Linked DNA regions of Homo sapiens: region 2 is linked to region 1. Evidence: promoter capture Hi-C in human tissues and cell types (Jung and others, 2019). All regions are on one chromosome and are shown on one strand. Each heading gives the region's core, a stretch centred on a gene start or on the middle of the fragment in contact. The rest is flanking DNA. Distances are from core to core; before and after follow the strand shown.

Region 1 (6,041 bases), core at 3,417-5,916:
GGCACTTAGTTCTTCATCAAGAGATGTGGGCTGGGTGCGGTGGCTCACGACTGTAATCCCAGCACTGTGGGAGGCCAAGGCAGGTGGATCACCAGGTCAGGAGATCGAGCCCATCCTGGCAAACACGGTGAAACTCCGTCTCTACTAAAAATACAAAAAATTAGCCAGGTGTGGTGGCATGCAACTGTAGTCCCAGCTACTCGGGAGGCTGAGGCAGGAGAATAGCTTGAACCCGGGAGGCAGAGGTTGCAGTGAGCCAAAATCGCGCCACTGCACTCCAGCCTGGGTGACAATGAGACTCCCTGTCAAAAAAAAAAAAAGAGAGAGAAAGAGAATGAGAGAGAGAGAGAGTGCAGTGGCCCACGCCTGTAATCCTAGCACTTTGGGAGGCCAAGACCGGTGGATTACTTGAGGTCAGGAGTTCGAGGCCAGCCTGGCCAACATGGGGAAACCCTCTCTCTACTAAAAAAATATACATATACAAAAATTAGCCGGGCATGGTGGCAGGTGCCTGTACTCGGGAAGCTGAGGCAGGAGAGTCGCTTGAACCCAGGAGGCGGAGGTTGCAGTGAGTAGAGATCGTGCCACTGCACTCCAGCCTAGGCAACAGAGCAAGAGCCCATCTCAAAAAAAAAAAAAAAAAGACAGAGAGAGAGAGATGTAAAGTTAGTGAGAAGTGGAGAAGGGTTTGAATCCAGATCTATTAGGAAACACCTCTTAACACAGAAGTTCAGGTTCTTCCTTGGTAGAGTTTTATTTTTCTTGTCTACTTACACAATAGTATAAGACATGATTGGCCTGGGGCGGGGGCTTATGCCTGTAATCCCAGCACTTTGGGAAGCCGAGGCGGGTGGATCACCTGAGGTCAGGAGTTCGAGACCAGCCTGGCCAAGATGGTGAAACCCTGTCTCTACTAAAACTACAAAAATTAGCCAGGCACAGTGGTGGGCGCCTGTAATCCCAGCTACTTGGGAGGCTAAGGCAGGAGAATCGCTTGAACCTGGGAGGCGGAGGTTGCAGTGAGCTGACATCGCACCACTGCACTCTAGCCTGGGTGACAGAGCAAGACTCCGTCTCAAAAAAAAAAAAAAAAAAGAAAAAGAAAGACATGATTAGCAGGGGTTTTTTTGGTTTGTTTTTTTTTTTTTCTGAGACACAATTTCGCTCTTGTTGTCCAGGCTGGAGTGCAATGGCGTGACTTCGGCTCACGGCAACCTCCGCCTCCTGGGTTCAAGCGATTCTCCTGCCTCAGCCTCCTGAGTAGCTAGGATTACGGGCATGCACCACCACGCTGGGCTAATTTTGTACTTTTAGTGGAGACAGGGTTTCTCCATGTTAGTCAGGCTGGTCTAGAACTCCCGAACTCAGGTGATCCGCCTGCCTCAGCCCCCCAAAGTGCTGGGACTACAGGTGTGAGCTACCGCACCCAGCCAATTTGCAGTTTTTTAAAAAAATCAAAGTTGTACCCTAATAGAATATAAAAAAGTAGGCAGGTGTAAGAGAAAGGTGTAATGAGGTGAACCCCAATAGAAGGTATGATCAGAATTTATTCATAACAGGTGCTGTCTTCCAGTGCAGTGATCAGCTTGTATAGCACCAGAGATCATGGTATCTTTAACAAATTGTTCCGGCTAAAAAAACAGTTGTGGCCAGGCACAGTGGCTCATACCTGTAATCCCAGCACTTTGGGAGGCCGAGGCAGGTGGATCACCTGAGGCCAGGACCTTCAAGACCAGCCTGGCCAACATGGCAAAACCCCGTCTCTACAAAAAATACAAAAATTAGCAGGGCATGGTGGTGTGCACCTGTGATACCAGCTACTCGGGAGGCTGAGGTGGAAGAATTGCTTGATCCCAGGAGGCAGAGGTTGCAGTGAGCCAAGATTGTGCCACTGCACTCCAGCCTGGGGAGACAGCAAGACTCTGTCTAAAAAAAAAAAAAAAAAAGTCGTGCTTCCTACTTCTTAGTATTTGGTGGGTGTGGGTGTCTTGGTTCATGACCATTTGCCACACCTGTTCTTCCTTTCTCCTGAAGATTCTGTGAGTCCCCTATGTTCTTCTAAATAACTTCATTTTTGCTTAAGACAGCCATGGTCTGTTTCTGTAATTTTTTTTTTTAAAGAGACAGGATGCTTGCCATGTTGCCCAGGCTGTAGTGCAGTGGCTATTCACAGGCACAATCATTGCACACCACAGACTCCAACTCCTGGCCTCAAGTAATCCTCTTGCCTCAGCCTCCTGAGTAGCTGGAACTGCATGCGTGAACCACCGTGCCTGGCCTACTTCTGTAATTTTTAAGGAAAAGTTTTCTAAGTGATATCACACACACAAACATGTGCCCATGAAAACGTAATGATTCCTTCACCAAACATCTGTGGAGACTTTGTGTCAGGCTCTACTCTAAATATGAGGATAGGATACAAAAACAAAAGAAATCTATGTCAACTAAGAGCAACTGAAGGAGGAGCAGTTTGGGGCAGGAAGATGATGTTTAGGACATGTTGAGAATGAAATGTCTGTGAGATGAGACATCTTAGGCAGAAATAAATATTTAGTAGACATTTGGATGCTCTTTTTTTGTGTGGAGCTTAGCAGAGACGTCTGAGCTGTAGGCAAAAGAAAAAAATAAAGGGGCTCAAAGTGGAATCAGGATATAGGAGGAAGAGCACATTTAAAGGATGATGGAGGGGCCGGGTACAGTGGCTCACACCTGTAATTCTAACATTTTGAGAGGCTAAGGCGGGCAGATCACTTGAGGCCTGGAGTTCGAGACCAGCCTGGCCAACCAACATAGCAAAACCCGACCTCTACTAAAAATATAAAAAGTAGCTGGGCATGGTGGTGCACTTCTGAAATCCCAGCTACTAGGGAGGGAGGCTTAGGCAGGAGAATCGCTTGAACCTGGGACATGGAGATAGCAGTGAGCCGAGATTGCGCCACTGCACTTCAACCTGGGCAACGGAGCAAGACTCTGTCTCAATAAATAAATAAATAGGCCAGGCACGGTGGCTCATGCCTGTAATCCCAGCACTTTGGGAGGCCAAGGCATGTGGATCACGAGGTCAAGAGATCAAGACCATCCCGGCCAGCAAGGTGAAACCCTGTCTCTACTGAAAATACAAAAATTAGGTGGGCGTGGTGGTGGGTGCCTCTAATCCCAGCTACTCGGGAGGCTGGGCAGGAGAATCGCTTGAACCCAGGAGGCAGAGGTTGCACTGAGCCAAGATGGTGCCACTTCACTCAAACGTGGGCGACAGAGTGAGACTCTATCTCAATCAATCAATCAATAAAGGATGGAGGAAGATGAACCAAAGGCAAATAAAACTCTGAAGGCAGTGCTATCTAAAAATAAAAATAAAAAAATAAAATAAAATAAAAGGAAAGGAAAACCAGCCAGGAAAGATGCAGTGCAAACCACAGGAGGGACTTTCAATGAGAAGGCTGTCAAATAAAAATGTCCTTGAAGACCTCAGCAAAAGCTACTTCAGGGAAGTAGTGGGTTGAGGATAGAAGGAAAGAAAGTGGAGGTGGCAAATGTAGCATCCTTGCAAGAAAATTGACTGAGAAAGGAAAAGGGGAGGGAGTGATGGAGGTGGAAGTGGGGAGATGAGGATGAAAGAACGAATTCCAAGACAGGAGAGATGACAGGGTATTTCTATGCTGAGGACGGAATGAGGGCAGTGAAACAGAAATGGATGCAAGTTCTCAAGGAAGGTAGGGGCCGGGGAGGAGAGGCAGGGCTCATAAAGAGGGATTGGCCTTGGAGAGAGGAGGAAAACTGCTCACCTGAAAAGGCAGTCAAGGGGTGGAAGGACCCCTGCATACAAATTTGTAGGTGTTACTGAAGAGTCGGTACACAGGCTCAGTGCTTCTAAATTATGTTTCTCTGTTTTGGTTTGGGTGATGAGTTGTTGATATGATAAAGTGATTTGTTGCACTGACTCTGGAGCCAGAGTGCCTGTGGTTGAAATCCCACCTCCACCACTTAATACCTGCTTGATCTTAGTTAAGTTACGTAATCTCTCTGTGCTTCATCCTCCTTATCTGTAAAAGGGACTAGGGGATAGAGAAGGCTGTCACATAGTGATATGGAAGTGGTTTTCTTTCCTTCCTTCCTTCTCTCTCTCTCTCTTTCTTTCTTTCTGTCTTTTTAAAATTTTTATAGAGACAAGGTCTGCCTATGTTGCTCAGGCTGGTCTCGAACGCCTGGCCTCAAGCAATCCTCCCACCTCAGCCTCCCAAAGTGCTAAGATTATAGGCGTGAGCCACCGCGCCCAGCCATGTTTACTATTTCCACTAGATTGTCATCTCCATGAGGTTGAGGTTTTCTATTTTGTTTAGGGCTGTCTACTCAGAGCCTGGCACAAAGCATGTGCTCAACGAAAATTTCCTGAATGAGTAAATTGGGGTGAAATTCTTGGGAGAGGGGCTCAGGGGGCTGGAATCCCTATTCCTGCGTGGGACTCCGGGCCACTGGGCGGCGTCCTGGGGTCTGGGGAAGGGCCTCCCCCTGCGCCGAGAGCGTGCCCGGGCGGGCGCGGTCCAGGCGCTGAGCCCCTGGGGCGCTCCCGTGGCTCCTCCCCCGGCGGGCGTGTAGTGTCGGCCCAGCGACTGCGGGAGGCATCCCGGAGCCGGCCGGGCGGGGCGGAGTCGACGCTCGGCCCGGCCTCTGCTCACCTCATCCACGGGAGACGGAAGTCTTGGCCCTGCTCCGCTCCCCCGAGAATCGGGCCTCGCCCTGCTGGGCGGCTGGACCTGGGCAAAGCCTGGGCGCGCTCCCGCGCAGCGGCGCCATGAAGCGCTCGGGGACTCTGCGGCTGCTCTCGGACCTGAGCGCCTTCGGCGGCGCGGCGCGGCTCCGGGAGCTGGTGGCCGGGGACTCAGCGGTCCGAGTCCGTGGCAGTCCGGACGGCCGCCACTTGCTGCTCCTGCGACCCCCTGGGGCGGTAGCCCCACAGCTGCTAGTCGCGTCGCGAGGGCCCGGCGCGGAGCTAGAGCGGGCCTGGCCGGCCGGCCAGCCCTCCCCGCTGGACGCCTTCTTCCTGCCGTGGCCAGCGCGGCCGGCGCTGGTGCTGGTGTGGGAGAGTGGCCTGGCCGAGGTGTGGGGCGCGGGCGTGGGGCCTGGCTGGCGGCCGCTGCAGAGCACCGAGCTGTGTCCGGGCGGGGGAGCCCGCGTTGTGGCAGTGGCGGCGCTCCGAGGCCGCCTGGTGTGGTGCGAGGAGCGGCAGGCCCGGGCCGAGGGCCCGTCAGGGTCGCCAGCAGCCGCTTTCAGCCACTGTGTGTGCGTCCGGACTCTGGAGCCCAGCGGGGAAGCTAGCACCAGCCTGGGCCGCACACACGTCCTGCTGCACCACTGCCCTGCCTTCGGGCTGCTGGCCTCCTGCAGACAACTCTTCCTGGTGCCCACTGCCACCACCTGGCCTGGCGTGGCCCACGTTCTACTCATCTGGAGCCCAGGCAAGGGCAAAGTGATGGTGGCTGCCCCACGGCTTGGTCTCTCCTACAGTAAGAGTCTGAATCCTGGACGAGGGGACACATGGGACTTCCGGACCCTGCTCCGAGGCCTTCCTGGGTTGCTGTCCCCCAGGGAGCCACTGGCTGTACACACCTGGGCCCCAACTCCCCAGGGCCTGCTGTTGCTTGACTTCGGGGGCACTGTGAGCCTATTGCAGTCCCACGGTGGTACGCGGGCTGTGGGCACCCTGCAGGAGGCACCTGTAGGCCCGTGGGGGTCTGCAGCCCTAGGCACATTTCAGGGCACTCTGGCCTGTGTGCTGGGCTCCACATTGGAACTGCTGGACATGGGCAGTGGGCAGCTGCTGGAGAGGAAGGTCCTAAGTACAGACAGGGTACATCTGCTAGAACCGCCAGCCCCCGGCATGGAGGATGAGGAAGAGCTGGAGACCCGAGGGAATCTTCGTCTGCTTTCAGCCTTGGGTCTGTTTTGTGTGGGCTGGGAAGCCCCACAGGGTGTTGAGTTGCCTTCAGCCAAGGATCTGGTGTTTGAGGAGGCCTGCGGGTACTACCAGCGGCGGAGCCTGC
Region 2 (5,312 bases), core at 2,769-5,268, 710 kb before region 1:
GCCAGGCGAGGTGGCAGGTGCCTGTAGTCCCAGCTACTTGGGAGGCTGAGGCAGGAGAATGGCGTGAACCTGGGAGGCAGAGCTTGCAGTGAGCCGAGATCGCACCACTGTACTCCAGCCTGGGCAACAGAGCGCGACTCAGTCTCAAAAAAGAGAGAGAGAGACAAGGTCTTGCCAGGTTGCCAACCTGGTCTTGAACTTCTGGGCTCAAGAGATCCTCCTGCCTTGGCTTCCCACACCTGTGTGTAAGCCACTGCACCTGGCCCTATTAATGCCTTTTATAGCTGTTTTCTCTGCTGTGTATCAGTGTCAGTGTATGTGTGTTGTTCCTGTGTCCAATCAGGGATCATTCATTGCATTTAGTTGCCATGCTTCTTCAATTTCCTTTGAACTAAAATCTTCCTTCTTTCAGACAAAACAATGCTTTCCTTAGACTCTCAACTTCTACATCCCACCACTGTGCTAGCTTTTCTCTCCTTCCCTAGATAGCCACGTTTTGTAAAGAAGAGACTCAGCAGTCTTCATATCCTCACCTCCCTCTTCAACAGGCTGCAGTGTGGCATCTGCACCCCCTAACCCCTTCATGATCCTCACTCACCAGACTTTCCTGCTACCTCTCTGGTCACTTCTTGGGCTACTTTGTAGGCTCCTCTTCCTGTGCTCGTCCTATAAATCTTACAGTTCTTTAGGACCCTGTCCTAGTCCTGTTGCTCTTTCCACTGTTTATGCTTTCCCTGGGTGATTTCTTTTCTTTCTTTATTTTATTTATTTATTTTTTTGAGACAGAGTCTTGCTCTGCCACCCAGGCTGGAGTGCAGTGGTGTGATCTCGGCTCACTGCAACCTCCACCTTCTGGGTTCAAGCGATTCTCCTGCATCAGCCTCCTGAGTAACTAGGACTACAGGTGAGCACCACCCCACCCAGCTAATTTTGTATTTTTCATAGAGATGGGGTTTCACCATGTTGGCTAGGCTGGTCTCGAACTCCTGACCTCAGGTAATCCACCTGCCTCAGCCTCCCAAAGTGCTGGGATTTCCAGTGTGAGTCACCATGCCCAGCTCCCTGGATGATTTCATTCTTTTCGGGGGAAGAAGCGGGAGTGGAGTTTCATTTACCACCTACATGCTGGAATCCCTATTTGTAGCCCAGGTCTTTCCCTCCAACTTCAGTTTCAAATCTCCAATGGCCTCCTCAACATCTGAATCCACTTAGAAATCTCACAGGCACCTTGAAGCAATATGTCCAAAAAGAGAACTGATTATCCTCCTACCACTTCTACTGTGCTTTCTGTCAAAAAAAAGAAAAAAATACATATATATGGCATCCCTCATTCATTACCTGAGCCAGATACATAGAAGTCATCTTTGACACATCCTTTTGACATCATCCATGACACATCTAATCAATCACCATACTCCACTGATTCTATCTTCTTAGTATCTCTGGAATCCATCTACTTCTTTCTGTTCTCACCACCACATTCAGGCTGCCATCATCTCTCCCAGGAATATTTCAGCAACCTCATAATCCTTTCCCCAAGCTTCCAGCTGTGCTCCATTTTAATCTCTCCTCCACCCTGGACTCTGAGTGATTTTCTGAAAATGCAAATCTGACCATTTTTTAAATTGTTCAGCTAGTTTCTCACAGCTCTCAGGATACAGTCTAAATGACTGAACTTGGCCTATAAGCTGGAGTGAAAGTCAAGGTATTTTATATCTGGTAAGGTACAGGCCCTGATGCCAGTTTAGAAAGCATGTCAGCTGATTTATCTGACCAGTTTATGCCGGCTAAATAATGGCTTGCCTATAGAGCCCCATACTCTTCTGCAGTCTCATCTAGGGCCACTCTTCCTCTAAAGTCCCACTGATCTTGTTTTGGTTCTCAGAATCAATCACCAAAAATGCAGTTACCTTTGCCTGGAATACTCTTTTCCAGTGGCTGCACCATCATCCCACCTTATCTTTTCATTTATTTATTTATTTATTTTTTTTGTAACTCCATCCTGTTACTGCCTTAGTCCTCTGAAAACCTCCAGCTAGTTTTCATACGAATGCGTTTGAAGTCTTCTCCATTTTGCACTTGTGTAGAATTTTTTTAAAAATTCAAGAACAAAACTTTTTATTAACTGAAAGCCTATTATGTATTAAGTATCATGCTGAGTTTTGTGGATATAGGGGCTAGGACAAAGTATCAACAGAGTAAAAGTGTAAGCTCCACGAGGAAATAACTGGGTCTGTCTTGTTCATTAATGAATCCCCATTCCTTTTTCTTTTTGTTTAATTAATTACTTTTATTTTTATTTCAATAGTTTTTGGGGTACAAGTGGTTTTTGGTTATATAGATGAATTATAGTGGTGAAGTCTGATATTTTAGCCACCCAAGTAGTGATGAATCCCTATTTCTTGAGATGATGTCTGCACACGGTTATATGCTTACCATTTGTTGGATGACTGAGTGAATAAGATAGTTTAAAATGGAGATTTTTTCCTATAAGTCAAAAAGTATTTTCCTAGTTCATTTATTTTATAAATTCAGATATTTTGTACAAGGCTGTCACAATCTAACTCACTTTTTTTTTTTTTTTTTTTTAGACAGAGTCTCGTTCTGTTGCCCAGCCTGGAGTGCAGTAGCGTGATCTCGGCTCACTGCAACTTCCGCCTCCCGGGTTCAAGCAATTCTCATGCCTCAGCCTGCCGAGTAGCTTGAATTACAGGCGCGTGCCACCAGGCCCGACTAATTTTTGTATTTTTAGTAGAGACGGGGGTTTCTCCATGTTGGCCAGGCTCGTCTCGAACTCCTGACCTCAGGTGATCCACCCGCCTTAGCCTCCCACAGTGCTGGGATTACAAGCGTCAGTCACCGCGCCTGGCCCTAAATCACTTTTGTTGTTGTTGTTGTTGTTATACTGTTCTTTTTCATTGCTAAGTAATATTCCACTGTGCTACATATGGAATATGCTACAATTTGTTCATACAACCACCTGCTGAGGGGCATTTGGGTGTGTGTCAGTTTTTTAGGCTGTATAACCAATTATCACAAACATAGCAGCTTAAAACAACCTAAATCACTTTTAACCAAACCCTAGAGTTTTCTCCTCCTAAGGTAGACCCAATTTCCAAAATAAACCCATATTGTACCTTTTCAGGCCAAAGAAAATATTTATATGCTTTATTTGCTGGAGGCCATTATATTCCACCGTTGAAGGACTTTTGTTAAGTACCTGTTTGACCCTTAGTGCAGGGCTTACATCCCACAGTTAGCAATAGCAAGTTATGTGCTTTTTGAGCTCTAAACACTGAGAATTTCTTGAACCGAGTTCTATTCGGCCCTGACTTGCTGTGGGGGAGAAAAGATTCCTCGGGAGAAGTGTGGGTGGCGATGGCTTAGGAGGACCTTGAAATTCCGCATTTGTCTGTGAGCTGCTGCCAGGTGCCCATTGGCCCAGCTACTCTGGGTCGCAAACCTGCAGATGCCAGATACATGAAATTTGGGGACGTTCAGCTTCCTAAAACCACAGTTAGGCAGGTCCTAGGACCCGTGATTCTTGCCACAGTTTTTCTTAGTATTTGGGCTACAAGTGAGGCATTGGCCGCCATCTTGATATCAAATGCCAGGCAAGCCGCTACTGGCGTCGCTCGGTAACCACGGAGACACCCGTGCCCCTCCCGTTTCTCATCCTTAGAGGCTGTAAACTACAATTCCCATCAGCCGATTTCCTCTGCGTAATGGCAACTTATCTAAATCTGGCTTGTGGGCAACCGCAACGCTGCCGCAGTGAACTGTGGGAGTTGCGGTTCACGGCGTAGCCTCAGTTTTTTTCCTGGGGGAAGTTCCAGAACTACAAATCCCGTGAGCCAGTGGGCTTTCGCCTGCGCACGGAGAAGCCGATTCTCCTTGGCCCCTCAGCCTGCGCCTGAGAGGTAAGAGAGGGCGGGGGGAAGGAAGAGGAGGCGGGATCCGGGCGCTGCGTTGGCTGCGGCCTGGCACCAAAGGGGCGGCCCCGGCGGAGAGCGGACCCAGTGGCCTCGGCGATTATGGACCCGGCCGAGGCGGTGCTGCAAGAGAAGGCACTCAAGTTTATGGTGAGGAGACGGTGGAGGCCGGGGAACGGTGGAGGCGCTGGCGTTGGCGGCGTCGCTGGCCTGGGCCGCCCGCCCACTGCGGGACCGGGCAGCGGGACCCTGGGCCGAGGCTGGCGGCGGAGCGGCTGGAGGGATGGGATGGGAGCTCCAGAAAGGAGGCTGGGGGTTGCGGAGCGGACCCAGGGGTGGGGGCAGCGGCTCCGCCATCTTGTGGATGAGAGGCCAAGTGACAGCGGGAGCTTAATCGAGGAGGGGGCTCCAGGCGGCGCGCGGGGCCCTGGAGGGAAAGGGGCGTGGGGACTGTTACTGAAAAGCGGAGGAAGCTCTCTGGAGAAACGCCGTGAGGCCGCTGGCGGGGCCTTCCTGGTGTCAGGGTTACCGGTAAGGCCCGGGAGAGGAGGTGCATTCACGACTGGGGAAGGGAGCGCGGGATAGAGTGAAGACAGATACGGTGGGTAGAGGGGAACGGGCAGGGCTGGATGCAGATGGATTTAAGGGTGGAGGAGGGAACGCTAGGGCTGGTGAGAGGCTTATAGTTTTGTAGAATGAGGAGGGAGGATAGCCTTTGCCTTGAGGGTGGAATCCCAGCTTGGCCAAACTACTGTTGACAAACTCTGGAAGGGAAGAGGCCTCACTAAAGAAGATAAGGACTGGGAATGAGGACCTAGGGCTATAATGACAGTCCCTGGGAGGGGAAAAGGGTGTTGACTGTAAGCTAGAATTACAAATGTCAGGGAGGGGTACATAACGCTACTTTGAAAGGAGAAGCTAAATACTGTAATAAGGACAAGGTGATGAAAAGTAAGAGCAGATTGTCAGGGAAACATGGGTACAGGAGATTGGGGCAAAATGAGTATCTAATAGGGTAAGCAAAACAAAATTTAAAGGTAAATTGTGGGACGGTAAAATGTGGAGGCCAGGTGCTTTGTATCATTTTCTGGGAAAGGAAAGGCCGTGGAGATGAGAGTTGCAAAGACCCATAAGAAGTGATGAGATCAGTTGAGAAATTTAGGAGATAAAAAGGGTGGAGGTTGGTAGAGGGAAGTAAGTCAGGGATAAGTCAGGATTTGTGGTTACCCGTCAGTTTTAGGTTGAAGCACAGTGTGAGCAAAGATTGGATTTTGTGGGTGTGCTTAAACCCCTTGGAACATATTTCTTTAACTTTGTATCACGCTTTTCTTTTTGCTGTGCTTATCTTTGGCAAACTCGTATAGTCTGATATTTGATGCT

What was found. Contacts are between HindIII fragments. The study calls those that stand out against the background at their distance.
Region 2: the fragment with the promoter of BTRC here is called in contact with the fragment with the promoter of HPS6 in region 1 in 1 of the 25 tissues and cell types used here (heart left ventricle).

The regions. Positions count from the first base shown.
Region 1 is chr10:102,060,683-102,066,723 of GRCh38, forward strand. HPS6 (HPS6 biogenesis of lysosomal organelles complex 2 subunit 3) reads left to right here and starts at 4,667. Exons shown (of 1, transcript NM_024747.6): 1 at 4,667-6,041. The coding sequence starts at 4,793. RefSeq lists an enhancer at 4,159-4,208 and a silencer at 4,419-5,088. The HindIII fragment of the contact is 30,919 bases long and covers 1-6,041 here.
Region 2 is chr10:101,350,147-101,355,458 of GRCh38, forward strand. It overlaps BTRC (beta-transducin repeat containing E3 ubiquitin protein ligase), which reads left to right and starts at 4,019. Exons shown (of 15, transcript NM_033637.4): 1 at 4,019-4,082. The coding sequence starts at 4,035. RefSeq lists an enhancer at 595-1,794 and a silencer at 4,063-4,242. The HindIII fragment of the contact is 8,909 bases long and covers 1-5,312 here.